Regions from separate parts of the Homo sapiens genome. Here all the other regions are linked to region 6. The links are contacts of gene promoters, found by promoter capture Hi-C in blood cells and fetal thymus (Javierre and others, 2016). All regions are on one chromosome and are shown on one strand. The core of a region is centred on a gene start or on the middle of the fragment in contact, and the rest is flanking DNA. Distances in the headings are between cores, read along the strand shown. Region 1 overlaps ARHGEF15 (Rho guanine nucleotide exchange factor 15). Region 2 overlaps DNAH2 (dynein axonemal heavy chain 2). Region 3 overlaps DNAH2 (dynein axonemal heavy chain 2). Region 4 holds the start of EFNB3 (ephrin B3). Region 5 holds the start of ATP1B2 (ATPase Na+/K+ transporting subunit beta 2). Region 6 holds the start of ALOX15B (arachidonate 15-lipoxygenase type B).

What was found. The method cuts DNA at HindIII sites, captures the fragments that hold promoters and counts their contacts. A CHiCAGO score of 5 or more calls a contact.
Region 1: a contact is called between a fragment that was not itself captured here and the fragment with the promoter of ALOX15B in region 6, in 1 of 17 cell types (activated CD4 T cells). The highest score is 5.1, in activated CD4 T cells.
Region 2: a fragment that was not itself captured here is called in contact with the fragment with the promoter of ALOX15B in region 6 in 2 of 17 cell types (megakaryocytes and endothelial precursors); the score reaches 6.2 in megakaryocytes.
Region 3: a fragment that was not itself captured here is called in contact with the fragment with the promoter of ALOX15B in region 6 in 9 of 17 cell types (total CD8 T cells, naive CD4 T cells, naive CD8 T cells and 6 more); the score reaches 8.5 in total CD8 T cells.
Region 4: the fragment with the promoter of EFNB3 here is called in contact with the fragment with the promoter of ALOX15B in region 6 in 2 of 17 cell types (naive CD4 T cells and activated CD4 T cells); the score reaches 7.0 in naive CD4 T cells.
Region 5: the fragment with the promoter of ATP1B2 here is called in contact with the fragment with the promoter of ALOX15B in region 6 in 1 of 17 cell types (activated CD4 T cells); the score reaches 5.6 in activated CD4 T cells.

What each region holds. Positions count from the first base shown.
Region 1 is chr17:8,317,910-8,321,674 of GRCh38, reverse strand. It overlaps ARHGEF15 (Rho guanine nucleotide exchange factor 15), which reads right to left. Exons shown (of 16, transcript NM_173728.4): 10 at 3,214-3,288; 11 at 3,013-3,105; 12 at 2,765-2,925; 13 at 2,516-2,668; 14 at 2,281-2,363; 15 at 2,072-2,176; 16 at 1-833. The coding sequence ends at 682. Among named protein-coding and RNA genes, the nearest start is that of ARHGEF15, 9.6 kb to the right of the region's middle. The HindIII fragment of the contact is 1,237 bases long and covers 1,291-2,527 here.
Region 2 is chr17:7,766,528-7,770,444 of GRCh38, reverse strand. It overlaps DNAH2 (dynein axonemal heavy chain 2), which reads right to left. Exons shown (of 86, transcript NM_020877.5): 23 at 2,384-2,545; 24 at 2,178-2,281; 25 at 37-193. Among named protein-coding and RNA genes, the nearest start is that of DNAH2, 51 kb to the right of the region's middle. The HindIII fragment of the contact is 2,502 bases long and covers 139-2,640 here.
Region 3 is chr17:7,748,539-7,752,350 of GRCh38, reverse strand. The region is part of intron 12 of DNAH2 (dynein axonemal heavy chain 2); the gene reads right to left. Among named protein-coding and RNA genes, the nearest start is that of DNAH2, 33 kb to the right of the region's middle. The HindIII fragment of the contact is 7,689 bases long and covers 1-3,812 here.
Region 4 is chr17:7,703,631-7,707,520 of GRCh38, reverse strand. It overlaps EFNB3 (ephrin B3), which reads right to left and starts at 2,319. Exons shown (of 5, transcript NM_001406.4): 1 at 1,801-2,319. The coding sequence starts at 1,922. RefSeq lists enhancers at 1,050-1,941, 3,626-3,705, 2,835-3,726, 3,727-3,890 and a silencer at 3,636-3,890. The HindIII fragment of the contact is 8,602 bases long and covers 524-3,890 here.
Region 5 is chr17:7,648,700-7,652,395 of GRCh38, reverse strand. ATP1B2 (ATPase Na+/K+ transporting subunit beta 2) reads right to left here and starts at 1,470. Exons shown (of 7, transcript NM_001678.5): 1 at 766-1,470. The coding sequence starts at 877. RefSeq lists enhancers at 900-1,542, 1,817-2,317, 2,318-2,818 and a silencer at 1,411-1,560. The HindIII fragment of the contact is 15,564 bases long and covers 1-3,696 here.
Region 6 is chr17:8,037,504-8,041,424 of GRCh38, reverse strand. It overlaps ALOX15B (arachidonate 15-lipoxygenase type B), which reads right to left and starts at 2,366. Exons shown (of 14, transcript NM_001141.3): 1 at 2,123-2,366; 2 at 1,820-2,039; 3 at 1,442-1,523. The coding sequence starts at 2,269. The HindIII fragment of the contact is 10,323 bases long and covers 1-3,570 here.

The DNA.
Region 1 (3,765 bases), core at 660-3,159, 280 kb before region 6:
TGGGTCAGGAGCACAATCACCACACACACACCACAGTCAGCAGAATGCCTTTCCTGATACATATACACACATATCTACACATGCACATGTACACACACAGATTTTCTGAGACACATACTCTGAATTCTTCTGGAAGAGAAGAACTGGCTTGAGAGGGCACAGGAAGCATCCAGGAATGGAAACTAGTATTTCCCAGACTCAAAAGACAGGACCAGTCATTGCTGCAGAAACAAGCAGGGTGACTACTGGTCTCTTGGGTCCAGATCACCATTTTCTTTGGCTGATTGGCTTCCTGCTCATTCCTGTTCCCAATTTTATCCTACGACTTTATCTCCAATGAGGCCCTTTTTCAACTGCCATGACCTAGATTTGTCTTCCTTGGCCCTGAGCATAGCAGGAATACTCATTGGCCATAGGCTCAGCCAGCTCAGTACCCATTGGCTGCTCTGCACTAAGCCTCTGTCTCCATTGGCCACACATTCAAGGCATCCTCATTCATTCTTATTGCTGTGGGTTCAGGCGGCCGTTTTCATTGGCTGCTCTGTCCTGAAGCTCGATCTCTATGGTTGCCACGAGAGGTAGTATCTCCACTGACAGTGAATCCAATGGATGAATGGGCTTTGTTCTCTCCGTGCCACACTGGTAGGTGTCTCCCAACATGTGCCCCCTCCTCAGCCTGCATTAGGGTGGGGGGGCATTGGGGGTGCCTGAAGAAGATCCAACAGCCTCGAGAAGCCTCTGGTTCTGGCGAAGGTGCCTCCTCCTTTCGTGTTCCCCTGTGACTTCACACACCAGCTGGGCAGGGAAGGCCCCAGGAAGCCCCTTCAGCCAACCTGGGGGAAGAGAGACAGAGGCTCCAATGAGGTGGGGGCAGGGAGCAGGTGAGGAGGCAAAGGGGGCCTCGTGGGGTCTCAGGCCTTCAGGGTCATTGTAGGTGTGGGAATTCATGGACAAGCCTGGAGCATCGGTAGAAAGGGCATCAGAAGTGGAGGTGACAGCAGCTCGGAGAGAGTCTGGGCTGCTCTTCCGTCAAGCCCTGCAGTGGCTGCTCATGTCTCTTGGAGTAAGAGGTGGAGTCCTTGCAGAGACCTGTCAGGTCCTGCGTGATCCCATCCCTGCCACTTCTATGACCTCATTTGCTTCTCCCCCTTTCTCTCTCCTGCTAGTCACACTGGCCTCCTTACAGTTCCTCAGTCACACACCAGCCGCAGGGCCTTTGCACTGCCTGCTGCCTCCAGCTGGGACACTCTTCCCCCAGACACCATGGGCCTAAATTAGCTCCATCAAGCTTCATGTTGCCTTCTCAGTGAGGTCCACCTCGGCCTCCCTATTGAAAATTTCAGTCTGCCCAACCCTGGAACTCCTGACCTTCTTTGCTCTGCTCACTTTTTTTTTTTTCCATAACACTCATAACCTTCACATGTACTTTATAATTTACTTATCTATTTTGCTCATTCTTTATCGTCTGCCTCCTCTGCTAGAACGTAGCTCCAGCAAGGAAGGAAGTGTGATATATTTGATTCACAGTCCCTAGAACAGCGAGTGGCACTTTGTAGGTGCTTAATAAATATTTATTGAATGAATAAATGAAACACGGCCAGGCGCAGTGGCTCACGCCTGTAATCCCAGCACTTTGGGAGCCTGAGGCAGGAGGATCACTTGAGCTCGGGAGTTCAAGACCAGCCTGAGCAACATAGTGAGACCCCCCACCTCCATTAAAAAAAAAAAAGAATAGAAATAAGGCCTGGCACCAGAGGCTCATGCCTGTAATCCCAGCACTTTGGGAGGTGAAAGGGGACGGATCACCTGAGGTTAGTTCGAGACCAGCCTGGCCAACATGGTGAAACCCCATCTCTACTAAAAATACAAAAATTAGCCAGACGTGGTGGTGGGCACCTGTAATCTCAGCTACTTGGGAGGTTGAGGCAGGAGAATCCCTTGAACCCAGGAGGCAGAGGTTGCAGTGAGCCGAGCTCACACCACTGCACTCTAGCCTGGCTGACAGAATGAGACTCTGTCTCAAAAAATAATAATAATAAATACAAAATAAATAAATGAAAGACTTTCTCACCTTCAGGGGTCTTGTGCAGGTGTTTGGGGGCAGCCCTGGACTCCAGACTCCGTCCTTCAGTCTTGGCAGGTGCAGACGACTCTGAACACAGTTCCTGGGAACAGTCTGGTTGGGGGTGGGTGACATTAAAGTGATTCTGTTTAGCTTCTCCCCCATATTCCTCTAAGACTCGCTTTTTCTTCCCTCATCCCCTCTAGGGGGATACTCACCACAGTCCTCATAGATGGTGTCTGGGGAGCAGGGAAGGGGGCCTGGGGTTGGGAAGGCTCCCAGCCAGCGCTGCATGTCTGATCTGGTGGGGATATTGGGAAGTGTCACAGTTGGCCCAAAAGATCCTCTGGGGCTGAGGCAGGAGCCACAGAAGAGAGAGACTGGGGAAGTGGGGGAGGTCTGAGAGGTCAGATAAGTGTCCCAAGGTTGTTTTCTGAGGGAAACACAACTCACAGGGAAGAAGCTTGGAGTAGTCGGTGGGTGGGGCGGCCCTGGTGGTTGCTGAGAAGGGAGAGGCGGAAGGTAGGGGGTCCAGATGGATCCGGAACCTGCTGGGCCTGGACCAGGGAGCGATGGGCATAGTCCAGAACCTGTAACCGCTGCCCACTGCCCAGGGATGAGGTCGTTCAGAAGGACAGCAGGGGTCCCGCTGGACCCCTCCTGCCCACTCCAGCCTGGGCTCCTTCCTTCCCTAGGACTCACCTCTTAGGCTGAGTGATGAGCAGCAGGTCGCTAAAGAGCAGCAGGCAAAGAGGGGTGAAGCGGGGGCGCGAGGCAAAGAGCACGCCCCCCCTCCGGCACCCTAACTCAGTCAGCTCTCCCTGGAATTCCAGGCGCCGTGACCAGGAGACCAGGGGCAGGGCCTGCGAGGAAGCGGAGGCAGAGGAGGTTCTAGCGTGGCAGCAGCAACATGGGGCAGGGCAAGATGGGGAGCCTGGGCAGCGATGTACCTTGACTTTGTGGAAGCGCAGCCTTTGGGTGAGCCGGATCAGCTCTTCAGTCTGCTTCATGCGCCCCACCTCAGCGCTGCAACGCTCGATGATCTAGGTAAGGGGAGCTGTGTCACCACCCCAGCGGCCAGCCCCCTGCTCCCTACCATTTCTCTCTACCACCTTGTCACCTCCCCCTGCTTCAGCTTCCCCACTGCCCACCTTGCTGACAGCACCCAGGGCCTTCTGGGCATTCTCCTGACGGCTGGACCCCTCTTCTGTCTGGCGCAGGATATTCTGGGGACAAGGAGGAAGGGTGACTGGGCCCCCTGCTCTGTGGCCCTGGGATTCAGAGGGGCCACAGCTCAGAGGACCCTGTCTGTTTCAGCCAGTTTCAACAAGGCTGACAGACCTCATCACTCACCATCTGCAGAACCCTGAGCAAGTCCTGTTACCTCTCTGAGCCTCAGCTTCCCTATCTGTAAAATGGGGCTAATACCCACCTAGCATATCAATAGCATTGTTTTGAGGATTCAAGAAGGCAATATATGTAAAGTGCTTAGCATAGTTCTTGGCACATATTAAATGTTGAAAAGAAGGTTCTTATTTTTTTTTCTTCCGGAGTCTGGCTCTGTCACCCAGGCTGGAGTGCAGGGGTGCGATCTCGGCTCACTGCAACCTCTGCCTCCCGGGTTCAAGTGATTCTCCTGCCTCAGCCTCCCAAGTAGCTGGGATTACAGACGTGTGCCACCACGCCCGACTAATTTTTTTGTA
Region 2 (3,917 bases), core at 140-2,639, 270 kb after region 6:
CAGGAGGTGTGGGAGCATGGGAGGGGACTGTCGTACCACTTCTATAGCCAGCTCTTTAGTTGCTGAAGCAGAGATCTCCCCAATTTTCTCCACATGCTGATCCATCCCAAGCTCCACAATCTGCTCCAAGGTGAAGCTTTCAGATTCCTGATCAAACTCCCGCTGGATCTCATCCCGGACCTGGTCCCAGTGCCTGCAGCCAGGAACAGGAGGGTGTGAGGTCAGGAGAGTTACCATCACTCCATTGCTGTCTCCCACTGGGACACTATGATTCTGCATAGTTACCAATTCATGATTCAACTCATTTTGCTAAACAGGCTCGAAGATGCAATCTTAGGCACCAGGGGAATACGAAGATTGAGGTGAAACCCTCCAGGAGTGGATTCTCTGGAGAGGAAGTTAAGGCAGGTGTGCCCACAAAACACACAATGAATCACCGCAGGTTTACTCTAGAACTGTACTGAGTAAAGGCCTTACATGAAACATCTCATATCATTCTCACGGCTACTCTATAAATTAGGAATTATTATTATTCCATTTACAGATGAGAAAACTGAGGCTTAGAGAGGTTAAATAATGTAAGCAAATAAAGTGGTTAGGTTATACATAACCGTATAACACTTAATGGTTTGGCATTGCCAAAAACGTTATACTGGAAGAAAGACAAAGAAGTAAAATTATTTTCTCTTAAATGGATAGATCATGATTGAAACACCATTTATAAAAATTACTTTATTTTTATAAATCTATCCCCAATGGTTTGAGATACATCCTCTGCCATATAATAAATTCCAGATGAATTAAAAGAGTTAAACCTGAGAAACACAAAGCATTAGAGGAAAGAATGAAGAGGATGTATTTGTAACTTTGGGATAGGAAAGGTCTTCCTAAACAAGGCACAAAGGCAAAAACCATACAGAAAGAAAGTTATACTTCTGGCTACCTCAAAATAAAATCTTTTGTATAACAAAAGACATAAGGCGGGACGGGCACGGTGGCTCATGCCTGTAATCCCAGCACTTTGGGAGGCCAAGGCGAGCGGATCACTTGAGGCCAGGAGTTCAAGACCATCTTGGGCAACATGGCAAAACCCCATCTCTACTAAAAATACAAAAATTAGCAGAGCATGGTGGCAGGTGCCTGTAATCCCAGCTACTTGGGAGGCTGAGGCACAAGAATTGCTTGAACCCGCGAGGTGAAGGTTACAGTGAGCCGAGATCACAGCACTGCACCCCAGCCAGGGCAACAGAGTGAGACTTTGTCTCCCCCACAAAAAAAGGAAAAAAAAAGACATAAGACTTAGTCATGATAGACAACTCCCTTTCAGAGAGAGGGAGGCCCCAGGGCAGGGGTCAGAGAACAAGAAGCCAGCAAGGCTGGATGACCCGAGACAGTGCAAGAAGCAGAGGACAGTGGCAGGCTTGGTGTCTGCGCCACATGTTCGCTGAGCACTATTTGCAATAGCTAAGATGTGGAATCACCCTAAGTGTCCATCAAGCGATGAATGGAGGATGAAAATGTGGTGTATATATACAAAGAAATACTCTTCAGCCTCAGGAAAGAAGAAAATCCTGTCATTTGCAACAACATGGAAGAACCTGGAGGACATTATGCTAAGCGAAATAAGCCAGGCGAAGAAAGACAAACACCGCATGATCGCACTCATATGTCATATGTAAAGTCTGAACAGGTTGAACTCACAGAAGCAGAGTCGAGTGCTGGTTACCAGGGGCTGGGGGTGGTAGGTGGAAAGTTCGGGAGGTGTTGGTCAAAGGACACAAAATTTCAGTTAGACAAGAGGGATGATCTCCTGTACATCACGGCAACAATGGTTAATAACAATCTATTGTATACTTGAAAATCACTGAGAGTAGCTTTTCAGTACTCTCACTACAAAAAATAGGTATGTGAGGTAATGCATATGATAATTAGCTCAATTTAGCCATTCTACAATGTGTACATATTTCAAAACATTATGCTGTACACCAAAGTGTATGCAATTTTCATGCGTCCATCAAAATTAAATGTTAAAAAGAGGAAAGAGAAAAAGACATACATTTGTGGACAGAGGGGAAGAGAGGGCTGTGAACACTGCGGAGAGGAGAATGGGAGGGACCAAGTGGTGGCGCAGGCCAGCGGGGCAGAGTGGACACCCCGGAGCAGAGGAGAAGCCTCACCTCTCTCTAAGGGCAGGGTTCCGCAGGTCTGAGATGAGAGGCATGGTCCTCTTGAACTGCTCTATTTTTGAGCGAGTGGTTTCAATAATTTCCCAGTTTCGGTCCTGAGCAAAAGTTGGGGGCATGAGAAGACCCGACGACCTCCCTGGGAACAGACCCAGATCCTCCACCAGCTTCTCTTCCGCCTCCCCGCCGTTTCTCCCCACCTTATACTCTTTGGCTAATTTTGTGAGGCGACGAAACAGCCCGTGGGCCGTGGTCTCCATGGTTTCCGTCTGCAGGATCAGGAACCGGCCAGTCTTCCACTCATTCCAGTTCTCCTCCCAGTCTCGTGCGATCTCCCAGATTTGCTGGAGGGCATCGAGCTCCTACAGGGCAGAAAGGCGCGTTGCATGAAGTGGCACCTGCCCTCTTCCTCCCTGACGGACGCCCAGGCCCTTCGCTGCTCTCGCTCTGTGAAGCTTCCCCTCTAGATAATACAGCGGCCTCCTCAGTCCACATATTTTTCTCCACTCTGTTGCCTTAAGAGCTTATCAAGGAACAAGCACATGAAAAAATCCTCAATGTCATGAGTCATTAGGGAAATGCAAATCAAAACCTCAGTGGGATGCCACTTCACACCCGCTAGGATGGCTAGAACCAAAAAAAAAAAAAAAAAGGTAAATAAGTGTTGGCACGGAGATATGGAGAAATAGGGAGACTTGTACACTGCTAGTGGGAATGTGAAACGGTGCAGCTGCTGTGGAAAATGGCTTGGCAGCTCCTCAAAAAGTTAAACATAGAGTTTCCATATGATCTAGCAATTCCACCCCTAGGCTTACACTCACAAGAATAGGGAACAGGTGTTCAGACAAATACAAGTACACGCGTGTTCATGGCAGCACTACTCCCTTTAGCTAAAAGGTGGAAACAACCCAAATGTCCATCAACTGGTGAATGGTAAACAAAATGTGGTAAACTCATGCGATATTCAAATATGAATATTCAGCCATTTAAAAAAGTACTGATCCATGCCACACCATGGATGAACCTTGAAGACATTATGCTAAGCGAAAGAAGCCAGATTAAAAAGGCCACGTATTATCATACAAATGGTTCCATTTGTATGAAGTGTCCAGAATAGGGGAATCATACACATGGAAAACAGGCTCATAACAGACTGGGGCGGGGGACGGGGGACTGGGGCGGGGGACGGGGGATGCACGTGACTGCTAATGGGCAGAGTTTCCTTTAGGGTAATAAAAATGTTTGGGAATTAGATAGATGTGGTATGAATTACTAAACGTCACGAATTGTTTACTTCAAAATGGTTAATTTTGGCAGGGCGTGGTGGCTCACACCTGTAATCCTAGCACTTTGGGAGGTCGAGCCAGGTGGATCACCTGAGGTCAGGAGTTCGAGACCAGTCTGGACAATATGGTGAAACCCCATCTCTATACTAAAAATATAAAAATTAGCCATGCATAGTGGTGGATGCTTGTAATCCCAGCTACTCGGGAGTGTGAGGCATGAGAATCGCTTGAACCCGGGAGGCAGAGGTTATAGTGAGCCGAGATTGTGCCACTGCACTCCAGCCTGGGTGAGAGAGCAAGACTCTATCTCAAAAAAAAAAAAAAAAAAAAAAAAAGGATTAATTTTGTTGTATGAATTTTACCTCAACTGAAACAAACAAAAGCTCCTTGTGAGCTCCTCTCCCTTCCCACTGCCTTTGTGGGCGCTAAGGACCCATTCTCCTGTCCC
Region 3 (3,812 bases), core at 245-2,744, 290 kb after region 6:
TAAACATATTTGTAAAAGTTGCTAGGTACAAAATTAATTTATAAAAATCAAAGTTCTCAATACAAAAATTGTGACTAGGTAGATATTATCATCAAGAAAAAGAGACAATAACAATTAAAACAACAAAAATAAAATACCAAAAATTAATCAGAAATTGTGTGTGTGTGTGTGTGTGTGTGTGTGTGTGTGTAAAATGACTTAAGGGGAAAAGGCAGGACTTAAATAAATTGAAAGAAAAAACACTGTTGGCCAGGCCCGGTGGTTCACACCTGTAGTTTCAGCTACTTGGGGGGCTGAGGCGGAAGAGGATCAATAAGCCTGGGAGGTCCTAGCTGCAGTGAGCTGAGATCGTGTCACTGCACTCCAGCCTGCATGACAGAACAAGACTCAGTCTCAAAACACGCACACACACACACACACACACACACACCCCACAACTATTCTTGGAAAGACTCAAAATCATAAAGATATTCTTCTAAAGTTAACCTATAAATTTAACCAAATCTCTATTCCTATAAAAATAGGAATGAGACTATTTTTGGAACTAAACAAATTGATTCTAAAATTCTTATGGGAAATAAATATTAAATATAGCCTGGAAAACTCTGAAGAAAGAAGAGTAATGAGGACAATAATTAAAACAGTTTGGTTCCTGCACATGAATAGACAGATACCAGAATAGAGAATCCCAAAATAGACACGAATATACTCGGGAATGTGTTACTATAAAGATAGTAGTTCACTAAATGAGATTGGGTCAACTCTAAATGAGATGGCTCTAGCCATCAGGAAAAAACAAACAAACAATGAAATACAAAACTCAATTTGAATCTGCACCTCTTTCTCTACACCAAAATAAATTTCAAATGGATCAAACATCTAAATGTAGAGAATAAAATCATAAAATACCAGAAGAAAATATGGAATATTTTTTAAAATAAAATTAAAAAAAAATCTTGGCCTGGTGTGGTGGCTCATGCCTGTAAGTTCAGCATTTTAGAAGGCCAAGGTGGGTGGATCATTTCAGGTCAGGAGTTTGAGACCAGCCTGGCCAACATGGTGAAACCCCATCCCTACTAAAAATCCAAAAATTAGCCAGAAATCGCTTGAACCCAGGACGCAGAGGTTGCAGTCAGCCAAGATGGTGCCACTGTACTCCAGACTGGACAACAGGGCAAGACTCCCCCTCAAAAAAAAAATGAATAAATAAATAAATAAATAAATAAATAAATAACTTGATTTTTTTTAATCTGCAGGGCTTTTAAAATAAAATTGCACTTTTTAATCACAAAGGATAAACATTCCCACGACCTGAAGATATGCTCAAGAAACTTTGCATTCTAAATACTGCTGAAATGTTATTTGGAAAGAATATTGAGGTGAAAATTCTAGAATTTTTTTAGTCTTTTCTACACTGAATTAACAATATTGGAGATAATAACACATTTCAAACTTTGCAAAGGATTGTGTTTTTACCGTCTTTATTGGAGAAGAATCCTCCAAGAATGAAATGATTTTCAAGTGCTCACTTATTTGTGATACAGGCTTTAAGAGATTGTGGAAGAAGAAATGCTGTTTTTTCAAACCCTGAAGATCTCCACTAACGTATGTGGTATTTTTAAAACTGCTAAAATATCTTCAAAGTGAGTAAGCCTCTTGAAAGTATAAATGAGCAATGAATCACCAGGCATTTAAGGAAAGCCTCCAAAGTAAAAGAGAGAGGCCAAAGCCAAAGACAATTACTATAAATCGGCTAGAATTCCAAACCCAGCCAAATGTACAACAAGCAGAGGGCAGGAAAACAGTTGTCAATCATGCAAAAACTCAAAAGATTTACCTCCCCTGCACCATTTCTTAGGAAGCTACTAATGGATACACACCAACAAAACAAAGGCGTAAACCAAAAAAGAGGAAGACAAAGGAAACATGAAATCAAACAAGGAAAGAGGCTGAGGGAAGTCCCGGGGTAACTGCTTTGTAACAGGCCTTGAAAACAACACCAGCTGGACAGAAGCAGGAGGACAGGAAAAAAACAGATCTAAGAAAAACATTGAAACCAATACCCAGTATGTCAGATTGTGAGGAAAAATACTACTCAAAGGGATTTTATTGGTTGGTTTGGAGGACTTAGTGATAGTGAATGCTGCGCTAGCAAAAATAATGAGGTGGCCAGGCACAATGGCTCACACCTGTAATCCCAGCACTTTGGGAGGCTGAGGTGTGTGGATCACCTGAGGTAGGAGAATCGCTTGAACCTGGGAAGCAGAGCAGAGATCCTGGGCAACAGAGCGAAATTCCATCTCAAATAATAATAATAGTAATAACGATAATAATGAGGTAATTTTTCTTTTTTTGAGACAGAGTCTCGCTCTGTCGCCCAGGCTGCAGTGCAATGGCGTGATCTCAGCTCACTGCAACCTCTGCCTCCCGGGTTCAAGCGAGATTCTCCTGCCTCAGCCTCCTGAGTAGCTAGGATTACAGCCACCCGCCACCATGCCCAGCTATTTTTTGTATTTTTAGTATAGACGGGGTTTCACCATGTTGGCCAGGCTGGTCTCGAACTCCTGACCTCGTGATCCACCCACCTCAGCCTCCTGAAGTGCTGGGATTAGAGGCATGAGCCACCACACCTGGCCTAATAATGAGGCAATTTTAAATTCCAAATTGAGCAAAACATTGTACAAGCAAAAGAACTATAACAATGTAAAATTACTCAACTCAGCAGTGAACAATCCTAATAGAGTCATAATAAGATAAGCCCTAAACATCAATGTAACAAAAAGTTGTGTTATAATGATATGGGGAGATTGGAAGTGTGTGAATAGATACAGAAACATTTCTAGTAGCATAAACGTATTATCATGTCCTTCAAACTGGATGTCTTGGATTTGTCACTGTTGATAAACATCTGAGCAAGCCTACTTGGGCATGTATGCTGGCCAACATTGCACCAAAACAAATTCTTCATTCTCTCATCTTGGCAAGATTTTCTTTTTTCTTTCTTTTTTTTTTTTTTTTTTTTTTTTTTTTTTTTTTTTTTTTGGGGGGGAGTTTAGCTCTTGTTGCCCAGGCTGGAGTGCAATGGCGCAATCTCGGCTCACCACAACCTCTGCCTCCCAGGTTCAAGCAATTCTCTTGCCTCGGCCTCCTGAGTAGCTGGGATTACAGACGCTTGCCACCATGCCCGGCTAATTTTGTATTTTTAGTAGAGACAGGGTATCTCCATGTTGGTCAGGCTGGTCTCGAACTCCTGACCTCAGGTGATCCACCCACCTCGGCCTCCCAAAGTGCTGGGATTACAGATGCGAGCCACCGCATCCGGCCAAGGCAAGATTTTCAAGATAACTTTAAGGCAAATTATCCAAGTTTAATATGTCAGTCAACAGGATGAATTCAGACAATACCTTCCTGATGCTGAGCTGAAAATCCTGGGAGAAACTTTGAATGATGTTCAGTCTTTAACTGAAGTTTGTCAAGAAATTTCCAGAATGCAAATTTTATTTCATTGACAAATATCAGTTTTTCTTTAAAAAAAAAAAAAAATCTGTGTGGCGAGGCTGGGCAAGGTAGCTTAGGCCTGTAATCCCAACGCTTTGGGAGGCTGAGGTGGGTGGATGGCTTGAACTCAGGAGTTCGAGACCAGCCTGGGCAACATGGTGAAAACCCATCTCTACCAAAAATAGAAAAAATTAGCTGGGCATGGTGGCAGGCACCTGTGTTCCCAGTACTCAGGAAGCTGAGGTGGGAGGGTTGCTTGAGCCCGGGAGGCGGAGGCTACAGTGAGCCAAGATTGCACCAGTGCACTCCAGCCT
Region 4 (3,890 bases), core at 1,070-3,569, 330 kb after region 6:
TGAATTTCAGGGATTTCCGGGCAAAGGGGGCGGCGGTTCAGGGAGGGGCTGTGTGGAGGGTGGTCCAGACCAGTGTCCTAAGTTAGCCAGCTAATAGCACAGAAGGCAAATGCCTGGTTTGGCCACGACCATCATTGGGGCTGATGGGAACCAGGGTCTAGGAACCTGCTGCCTGAGTCATTCTCCCACTCAGAATCCCACACTGGGTCTTAGACTTCTGGGGCAAGTGCTCTATTGCTTTGGAAAGGAAAGGAGTTGACTTTTCTAACCACAACCAACACACTTCACCATCTCCTTGGCCAGTGCACCCAGGCATCCACTGTCCCAGCACAGCCACAACTTGCCAACCCCTGCAGCCCCTTCCTGGACATCAATAGCTGCTGAGACAGGGTCTCAGGACTGGGTCCCAGGGGACTGCTACTTGATATCTTCCCAGACTCCCAAGTGTCCCACTCCCACCCCACATCCGAAAGAGCCCCCAGGACACCCTAACTCCCTTTTCTCTACCCTGTGAAAACAAGCTTATGTTCTCAAGCTACACACCTGATACTCACATTGCAGCTGGGAGTTGGCAGGTGGGTGACTGAGTACAGAAAAGACATTGAGATTATACCCAAAGAGATCCAGGGAAAAGAGAGGGAGGGATGGCAGAGCAGAGAAGTGTGAGGGAGGCTGGGAAGTAAAGAGAGGAACAATAATCCTAGCTCTCCTTTAATGAGCACATAATACATTCAAACACCTTACCGCTAATCCTCATAATAGCTGTAAGGATTGAGGATACAAACTCAGAAAGGTTAAGTGACATGCCCAAGGCCACACAGCTGAAAGCGGCAGAGCTAGGATTAAGACCAAAGATTTGATGAGCTCCAAAGCCCACCCCCTTCCCATGGCCTCACACAGTCTCCCCAGGGAAGTAGGAATTTTTCAAAACACAGAACTCTTTTATGAGCGGGAAGTGGGATCCGCATGTAGGCAAGGGACCCAGGTGACCTCCCGAAGGTTCTGTCCTACCCAGCGTGGCTTGAAGTTTCATCTGACCCCTGGCCTCTTTTCAGAGCAAAGCTGGCATGCCATGGAACAGAGGGTCTGATGGAAGAGTTTGCAGCAAAGATTGGGGGAGGGGGCAATGGAGTCCTCCAGATGCAAAAGGGAAGGAAGGAGGGTTCAGGGGGCTCCAGGCTTCTTCCAGCAAGATGCCGGCAAGCCAGGAAGGCAGGAATATGTTCTGGCTGGGAAATCGTTCAGCCAACAGTTCACTGACCCTCTGGCTGTGGGGAAGAGTTGGGAGACAGACTGTGAAGAGAGTCAAGGAGCCTTGGGGAAGTTGTCCCCAGAGCCCCCAAACGGAACCCCCTTGCCTCCCATCTCGGATGCGCAGTCCCTCTGGGGGAGGGAGGCACCCTGCCCTGCCTTCCCCTCAGCGACTCGCAGCACCTAATCTGCAGCTCTCTCCTGAGAGCTGACAGTAACCAGGCTCCCTCCAAGCCCAGCCCCCGACGCAGGCCTCCCACAGATCCAAATACCCACCTCACTGCCCTCCCGGCTACCCATGAACTTTCTTCTCCTTGCCCCTTTGGGGTCTCCAAACTCCTGACATCCATAGCACCACCCGCATCCAGCTCTGCGTGGGACCCGGAGTCTGGCTCCCAAGATCACCTGTCTAGTAACCCATCACACATCAGAGCACCAGCACCTTCCCTCCCGCCTCCTCCCTGCCCACAGAAGCCCGCCTCCAAGCCCCCAGAGCTTCCCTACCCACTGCCCTAGGGTCTGGGATCTCCCCAGCCGCAGGCCACTCACCTCTTATTCGCCGAGTTCCAGTAGACAGGCTCCAGGCTGAGCCCAGACACCAGCCCCAAAACCCCCAGCAGCAGCAGGGCCCCGACTCGCACGCCCCCCGGCCCAGAATGGGGGGGCCCCATGACCCCGCCAAGGCCTGGGGGGCGGGGCACCAACTCCCCCAAAGTCGCCCACCCCCCGGGGTGGCTGCCTTGGCTGCCTGGCTCTTCAGCCCGGACCACCCCGGTAGCTGATGCCCCCAGCGCCCACGCGGACCTGCTTCCTGCTGTGCCCGCGCCCCCGCGGCAGAGCGCTCAGCCCCACCAGAGCCCTTCCAGGGGCCGTCTGCAGGCGCCCTACGCGCCCCCGGCCCACGCGCCAGCACCCCGGGATCTGTGAGCCCGCCTAAGTGGGGGACTGGGGGAGCCGGGGACCGGGCGGGGGCGGCATGGGGCGCCGGACCAGGGAGCGAGGAAGGGGGCGCCGAGCCGGAGCCCCAGCCTCGCTGGGATTGAGGGCAGCGGGCTAAGGGAGGAAACCAGTCCCGAGCCCAGGAGGGGGGAGTTAAAGGAGAGGCGGGGAGGGGCAGAGGATGGTGGAGGGAAAAACCGGAGCTGGAGCTCGAGGCGGAGCGGGCGGCAGCATCCCGCGGCCCACGCCCCCCACACCTCCCTCACCTCGCGCACCTCCCGCCCGCCGCCCCGCCTCAGCCCCCGGCGCGGGCTGTCACGCCCCCTTTGTCTCTCCGAGCCTCTGGCTCCGGCTGAGTTCTGCCCGGCTCCCCTCCTGCCCTCCGATCGCCCAAGCTGCTGGAATCTTCCTCTCTCGAATCCAGAAAGGCTCTCGCCCTCTCCACCCCGAGGAACCCACCCCTTTCGCTCCCGCAGCCTCCTCCTCCATCCCAAAACAACACCGCTGCTCCCGGCAGGTTTGGAGAGAATAATAATAACCTTGAAGGCTTGGCGCTTTACAAAGTGCGGCGGAGCTGATCGTCACGACTACCTGTGTGAAGTGGGAGGGGCAGAGCTAACGATCCCATTGCAGAGATGAGGAAACTGAGGCTCAGGGAGGCCCCGTGACTTGCCCAAGGTCACACAGGAAGTCTGGGATAAAGCTAGAAACCAAACCCAGGCTGCGCACCTCCCACTCTTGGGGTCTCTTTTGTCACTGCTCCATGGACCAAGTGCTGTTGTTACCTGGGGGTTAGTGAAAAACAAGAGTTTAGGGGATACACTTGGGTCTTTCCTAGATGGCTGGGGGGAGAAGCGGGGCTGGGAGAAGAAGGGGCGTACCTACAACCCCAAACCGGCGCTGCGCAGGAAGGGCTGTTTCCAATTATCCTGGGGGAAGGGAGGAGTTGCCTTTTCGGGTGTAAGAGCCCTGGCTTTCAGCACCTCTGGGCAGGGGTGACATTCCTCTCCCTCTCAAGCCTCCCCAGGCCTTTCGTCCCTTCCCTTTGATTGTGAGGTCCAAAATCACATCCCCTGCTGGCAGTATTTCTTCAAAGTCCCCCCATTCTCAGTGTTTGGGAAGGTGTTGGGGGGAGGAGGGAGGAGTCACTGCTTCAAATGACACACTCGTCCCCCACCCCCAAAGACAGAGCAGACAAATGGAGAAACAAGCCCAGCGACAGCCGCTGAATGAATAAGACCCTCGCCGCGCCCCGCATGGAACAGCAATATCAAAGGTGACGACTGTATTTTTCAACACCTTTACTCTTTTATGTGTGTCCTTGACTCTGGCAACTGGGTTGTCTGCCTCCTGGGGAGCCCCGGGGAGCGGAGGAGAGTGCTCCTGCTCCCCTCAGAGCTGAGTAATGGTCCCCATGCTGCTGGAGAATGGCAAACAGTGTGGAGTGTGGGCGACAGGCGCCCTGTCACTGTCTGCACAGTCTCACACGGTCACACCCAACAGTCTGACCCAGCTCCTGCTCAGCCCCGCTCACCCTGACCCCTGCCGCCCCCACCTTGGGAGTGAGATTTCAAACAGGTTTCCCCCTTCAGTTTACCAAGTTGCCTAGCAACCAACCAGTCAATGGCATGAAGCCCCACCCCCACCCACTTGACTTCACACCAAGCTCAGCCGCCCCATTGGCTCCTGCCTGGTCCCAC
Region 5 (3,696 bases), core at 221-2,720, 390 kb after region 6:
CACCCCTCACCTGCACCTGTGCCGGTCACCAGACCCCCTCCACCCCCCCAACCCCCGACCACTACAGCTCCCTGAGTCCTGCCATGGTCAGCCTGGGGAGGCTTCCAAGTCATCCGACTGTCACAGACACCTGGCTGGCTGATGCACACAAATCACCACAGCGACCACTCCTCCCTCCGTCACCGACATGGGAGCAAAACCTGCAGCCTCGGTAAAACTCATACTATCAGCAGCCCCCCAACCCACAAAGCAGTCCCAGAAGGCTCCCAAGGCCAGGCGGTGGGATACAGACAACTTCCGCCGTGAAGAACCCCCCTAACACACCCCCCAAGACCCGCCCCCTCATGAACGTTCCCAGGGTCCAGGGGGTGGGCACGAGCTAAAAATAGACGGGGCTGCGGAGCTAGTGAGAGCCGGAGGGAGGGAAGGGGCGCTCTTTGGAGGTGGGGGACGCCCGTGTGGAGCGGACAGGCCCCGAGAGGGAGTGTGAGCGCCGGCGCGGACACGCAGGCGGAGCTGGCGACCCCCCGCCCGAGGGGGCTCCGCGGGGGGCGGGAAGGCGGCTGTGACCTACTTTCTCCGCCTCCGCACGGCCAGCCGGGGAGATTAGACTGGCGATTCGGCCCCCTCCCAGCCCAGAGCCCGGCAGGGAGGCTGGACGCCGGGGACCCGGGAGGGGAGCTGGGGCCGCGTCGGCGGGACCCTGCGCCCCCGAGGCGTCGCCCCGCGGCTTTCCCCCGCCCCTTGCGTGCCGGCCCTGCGTACCCCAGCTGGTCCCGGTGCGGCCCATAAACTGGTGCGTCCTCGGGTTCCACACGAACTCCTTCCACTCCTCAACCACCTGCCCGCAGCTCTTCTTCTCTTTCTGGATGACCATCTTGGTGGCGCGGGGCGAGTCCGGGCGCGGGGCGGGGGGTTGCGGAGAAGCGGGGGCGCCGCGCGCTGAAGCCCTCCACACACCCAAAAGCACGGGGAGCGAAGGCGGCGCGGGCAAAGGAGACCCCCCTCAGATATGCAGCTGCTGCAGATTCCGGGGTGCACGACCACGCGCTGCGGGGTGCTGGCAGCGCGGCGGAAGATGCACCGATCCTAGGCCCCCCAACTGCGATGAAAAGGGGTGCTGTCAGAGCAGGGGAGAATAACAAGAGGAAGGGGTATGAATGCAGCTTCACCCCCCACCAAACCGTCTAGAAACAAAACGAAATGGGGTGCAAAAACAGACGGCTACAAAAACCGAGCAGAACGCAGAAAAAAAGCGGGGTACAAAAAGGCAGAGAGAGGTGGGGGAGGGGGCCGCCCCGAAATCCAAGATGCAAAGAAGCTGTGGAACGAAGCTCAAGGCTCGCTCCGCCAAGCGGAGACCACTGCACCGGTGGTGGCTCAGCCGCGGGGGTGGGGCGGGGACGCGCAGCTGGGGGACAGCCAGGGATGGGGGGCCCCCCAGGCGGAGGCTCCGCTCCTCAGCAGTGCGAGGCCCGCGGTCGCCGAGCGCGGTCTTTATACTCTGCGGCTCTGGGGGTGCCCGCCCCCTTCCCACCCCCAGAAGCTCCGCCTCCTCGCCACTGGCCCAGGCGACCTCATACATATGTAAATATGGAGAGGTTGGGCCCGCCCCCCTGACTTCTCTTAGGGACCTAGCTGTCTCTCCATTACCCCCACCCCAGGTACTAGACTGGGACAGGGTGGGAGGAAGAGATAGAGGGCGTGTCCGGGCGGAGTAGAGGGAAAGATAACCCCAGAGAAACACAACGGCAGAGAGAGAAGCCGATATATGCTCAAAGGTGGGGGCCCCAGGCAGGGAGTTAGAAAGAGACTAAGATACAGATGCGGCGGAAGAGTCCGGGAGCAGATGGGGCAGAATGTCAGAGGAATAAAGAGCTAGAGATCAAGAAAGAGAGCGAAGAGACCAGCCGGGAGGCTGGCCGAGCCAGGAGGGAAGCTAGGACAGGCCCCGCAGAGATGGATAAAGGCCACCCCCAGAGGGACGTTCCCCTGTTGGGAGCCGCTACCAGTCCCCCAGACGCCTCCTTCTCCAATCTCACAGCCCCTGTCCACACCACCTGGCTCTGTCCACGTGCAGAGGCTTCCCCATCTTCCCATCACGTCTCCCTGAAGCCCTCTCAACACCACATTCCCAGTCCCCAGCACTGCCCTGAGATCCCAGCCCTGCAGCCAGGTCTACTTCGGTTCTCTGCCTCCTGGCACCCCCACCCCCACGTCGGAACTCACCTCCTTATGTGTCTACTTGGGTCAACAAACATTTATTGAGCACCTCTATAGACTGTGTGCTGTAGCCCTGGGGAGGCCAGAGAGGTTACACTGAAGCCACATCTCTCACGGGGCTCACAGTCTAGGGCGGGAGTACACTTGCTCTACATACCACATGTTAAGAATCATTATCTCAAGCCGGGCACGGTGGCTTATGCCTGTAATCCCAGCATTTTGGGAGGCCGAGGCGGGCAGATCACGAAGTCAGGAGTTCGAGACTAGCCTTGCCCACATGGTGAAACCCCGTCTCTACTTAAAAATGCAAAATTAGGCCAGGCGCGGTGGCTCACGCCAGTAATCCCAGCACTTTGGGAGGCCGAGGTGGGTGGATCACGAGGTCAGGAGATCGAGACCATCCTGGATAACACAGTGAAACCCCGTCCCTACTAAAAATACAAAAAAAAAAAATTAGCTGGGCGTCGTGGCGGGAGCTTGTAGTCCCAGCTACTTGGGAGGCTGAGGCAGGAGAATGGCATGAACCCGGGAGGCGGAGCTTGCAGTGAGCCGAGATCGCTCCACTGCACTCCAGCCTGGGCAACAGAGCTTCCGTCTCAATAAAAAAAAAAAAAAAAATTAGCTGGGCATGGTGGTGGGTGCCTGTAGTCCCAGCTACTCAGGAGGCTGAAGCAGGAGAATTGCTTGAACCCGGGAGGCGGAGCTTGCAGTGAGCTGAGATCACGCCATTGCACTCCAGCTTGGGCAATAGAGTGAGACTTCGTCTCAAAAAAAGAGAGAAAAAAAAAATCATTATCTCGGCCAGGCCCAGTGGCTCATGCCTGTAATCCCAGCTCTATAGGAGGCCGAGGCCAATGGATCACCTGAGCAAGGGAGTTCGAGACCAGAGGTCAGGAGTTCAAGACCAGCCTGGCCAACATGGTGAAACTGCGTCTCTACTAAAACTAAAAAAATTAGCCGGGTGCGGTGGTGGGAGCCTGTAATCCCAGCTACTCAGGAGGCTGAGGCAAGAGAATTGCTTGAACCTGGAAGGTGGAGGTTGCAGTGAGCCGAGATTGTGTCACTGCACTCCAGCCTGGACAAGAGCAAAACTCCATCTCAAAAAAATGGTATGCATTGAATGAATGAATGAATGAATGGGAGTTGGGGCTGGCCTCTGAAGGGTAGGTAGTCTTCCAGGACAAAGGAATGAAAGGCACAGAGGTGTGAAGTCAGGAGTAAGCACAGTCTACCCCAGGAGTGGCTGGCTTGGCTCCAGGAGAGAACTAGTCGGAGACTAGTGGGAAAGGAGGTTGGGGACACAGCATGGGTGTGGATTGCGGAGTACCCTGCAGGTTAGACTGAAGAATCAGGACTCTATCCTACAGGCTAATAAGAAGCCACTGAAGAACTTTCAGCTGAGGAGTGGCCTAATTAAAGCTGTATTTTGAGAAAATTAATCCCGAATCTGCTGCAGAATAGACTGAAGCATGG
Region 6 (3,921 bases), core at 1,117-3,616:
ATAAGAGCCTAGAGTGTTGGAACAGAGTGAACTGAAAGACAGGAACAACAGCAAGAGCACACAGTTGTGCAAGACTTAGCAGCTGACCACCTACATTCTTAACCATTTTCTCATTTGTTCCTCCTAACCCAAACGAGATTGGTATTCTTAGTTTCTTTTACAGAAGAAAATAAGAATTGAAGAGATGAAAAAATTGGTCTAAGATCTCACAGCTCGTTTTGGCAGGGCCTAGGCTGACTCTGGGTCTCCATGGACACAGTAGATCTCAATGTCTATTCCCTCTCTTGGGGCTGTTGCTGCCAGATTTGGTGCAATGGTTTCCTTAGGGGTGGAATTCATGACACATGGAGAATCACCAGGAACCAAATGAGCCTGTGGCTGCTCTGATCCCACAGACCAGGAGCAAAAGCCTGCAGCCCAGGCTTTAGATAGCAGATGAGTTGGCCGGATCAAGATCTTTTGAAAATCTGTTTCTGAATGCAGTTCCTGGCTTTGTGCCAAGGGAATCCTCACTAGCGGCCCCAACTCCTCTGTTATCTCCAAGTCCCAGTTTTCCCCTGTGATCTCCAATGCTGAGCCCAGAGCACAGAGAGAGCCCCCATCTCACCCCTTGCTAGCCCTGGAGGGTGAGTTTCCTGGGGCTTGAAGGGCGTGTTTCTGGCTCTACTCAGATTTCTGGGAGGACACAACAAGCCGATGCATGAAAAAGTCCCAGGGCAAGGAAGACACCAGCAAAGGTAAGGCATTTAAAGCAGTTTCTTTCTCTTTCTTTTCTTTCTTTCTTTCTTTCTTTCTTTCTTTCTTTCTTTCTTTCTTTCTTTCTCTCTCTTTCTTTCTCTCTTTCCTTCCTTTTCCTTCCTTCCTTTTTTTTTTTCTTTTTTTGAGATGGAGTTTTGCTCTGTCCCCCATGCTGGAGTGCAATGGCGTGATCGGCTCACTGCAACCTCCACCACCCGGGTTCAAGCTATTCTTCTGCCTCAGCCTCCCATGTAGCTGAGAATACAGGTGCCCGCCACCCTACCCAGCTGATTTTTGTATTTTTAGTAGAGATGGGGTTTCGCCCTGTTGGCCAGGCTGGTCTCGAACTCCCGACCTCCAGTGATCCGCCTCCCTCAGCCTCCCAAAGTGCTGAGATTACAGGTGTGAGCCACCACGGCACCTGGCCCTAGAGCAGTGTTTTTCAAACATCAGTGGCCACCAGAGTCATCTGGAAGGCTTGTCAAAACAAAAATTCCCACTCTACACCCTCAGTGTCGTAGTAGGTTGGAGGTGGCCTGAGAATTTGCATTTCTAATACGTTCCTGTAGACGCTGCTGATCCCAGGAGCAGCTTTGATAGGAGAGGTGGAGGCAGGGGCTTTTAATCTCTGTCATGACCAGGACACTCAAGCTGCCCCTCATCGTTTGGGCACACCCTCCCCCATCAGTAACCCCCTCCTCACTGGTACATCTCCTGCCGGGCCTGAAGCTCCTCCTGGCGCTGTTGCTGGAGCACAGGGTGGTGGTCTGCCCAGGACACCTTGGCTGTGGGAGAAGGGGAGTAGGTTGGGGTGGGGAGAGAAACTCACCATCACTACCACCAGCCACACAGTCTCCACGATTGCCACCCTCTACCAGGTCCCCTCCTCCCATAAGTACAGTTTCTCCTACACCAGGCTGCTACCTCCCGCTCCCCAAGGCTCCGCCATTCCCTCTCCTCTGCCCGCTACTCTGTGGCCACACCAGCTCACCTCTCCATTTCACCTGCCCTTCTCCCCAACCCCCAGTCCCCTACCCCTTCCTGTGCTCCCCCTGCAGCCCCAGCCCGGCCCGCCCCTCACCTGTACCCTCCTGCAGCACCAGGGTCCCCGCCCCCTCCAGCCACTGGTAGCAGGGGAAGAGGAGGTGGCCGCCCCGCGGCGGTGTCAGCTGGAACCAGCGGCAGAACCAGGCATCCGGGGCCAGGGGCCCCAGCAGGGGCAGCACTGGGGGCGCCTTGTGCACGCGCAGCAGCAGCACTCGGCCTACGTCCTCCGGGAGCGTCACCTGGAAGTCCTCCTCCTGAGGGGAGGTTAAGTATGCGTCAGGCCGGACCCTCCTGCTCGCCCCCTTCACCTCCACCCCATCCACTCCCACGCACTCACAGCGCCCGCAGTGAACTCCTTGCCGAGATTGTCCAGGGGCAGTGGGGGGCTCTCTCCCCGGGTCCCCACGATGCTGACAGACACTTTGTCCCATGTGCCAGCCCCGAAGGCTTCTCCGGTGGACACCCTGACCCTGAACTCGGCCATGCTGCCAGCCTAAGTCCAGCTCTCTACGGCGCACAGGGCTGCAGAGCGGGGCTCCCCCCTGGGACACGCCTGGTTATTGCCCCTGGTTATTGCCACTGACTCCAAGCCCAGTGGACTCCTCTAAAAAGCACGTCCGTTTCAGGGCGGGGAGGGGCGGGGCGGAGAGGCTGGAACACGCAACTAAAGTGGGGGTGGGCGGGGGATTGGCAGCGCTGGGAACAGGAGGGACTAAGAATACCCTGAGGTTTGGGGAACGGGGCCTTTCAGTGGTGGTGCCAGGCCAGAGAGCCTAGAGTTGGGACCCAGTTGGGGTGGGGGTAGATTTGTGCCCACCACGTCTGTTTGTTTTCCTTCTTAGCCTTAGAAGTCTATGCAAAAATATCACCCCATTTCCCACAACTCTTCTTGGGCCTGCGTTCATTATTTTTAAAATTTATTTATTTATTTATTTTTGAGACAGAGGCTTGCTCTGTCGCCAGGCTGGAGTGCAGCAGCATGATCTCGGCTCACTGGAACCTCCTCCTCCTGGGTTCAAGTGATTCTCCTACCTCAGCCTCCCCAGTAGCTGAGACAACAGGCGAGTGCCACCATGCCCAGCTAATTTTTGTATTTTAGTAGAGACGGGGTTCCACCATGTAGGCCAGGATGATCTTGATCTCTTGACCTCATGATCCGCCTGCCTCGGCCTCCCAAAGTGCTGGGATTACAGGCGTGAGCCACCGCGCCCAGCCTACATTCATTATTTTATTTCATTCAATAATTAATGTTCAGAACTACCTCTGTGCCAGGTGCTATGCTCACTGCTATTGATAAAGGCCCAGGCAAGACCTAGTGCTTGCTCTCATGGAGATTAAAAATCAAGTGTGAGGCCAGGCACAGTTGCTGGCCAACATGGTGAAACCCCATCTCTACTAAAAATACAAAAAAATTAGCCAAGCGTGGTGGCGGGCGCCTGTAGTCCCAGCTACTCAGGAGGCTGAGGCAGGAGAATAGCTTGAACCCGGAAGGCGGAGGTTTCAGTGAGGTGAAGTTGTGCCATTGCACTCCAGCATGGGCGACAGAGCAAATCTCGGTCTAAAAAAAAAAAATCAAGTGTGAGAGAAAATAAGTAAACCAACACATAATTTCAGATGATAATAAGTGCAATGAAGGAAATGAAACAGACTAATGTGAAGGAGTGAGAAGCAGAGGTGGGAAGGGAGGCGTTCAGAGCCTCAGAGGAGGTGAAAGGATCTGTCTGGGGAACAGAGTTTTGTGCAGAGGAAACTGTTCCTGAAGAGGCCCTGTGGTTAGGAAAAGCTTGGCTTGTTGGAGGAGGGAAAGGCAAGAGTGCAGTGAGGGAGGGATTTGGGGGAGAGATGCCAAGGGGAAGTTATGGATTTGGGCTTTGGGGGAATAACATAACAGATTTGGGGTTTTCGGTCTGGAGATGCTAAGTTTGAGATGGCCATTAGACATCCAAGTGGAGAACCCACGTCTGGGCATAGAGCTCAGGACTGCAGGTGTGCATCTTTGAGTCACAAGCACACAGGTACATCTATACCACAGGCTGGTGGAGATCACTAGGCAGAGAATATCCTATAAGTAGAGAAGAGAAGAGGCACAAGCTGTGCCCTAAGGTCCTCTGATATTTGGAAGTCATGCAAAGGAGT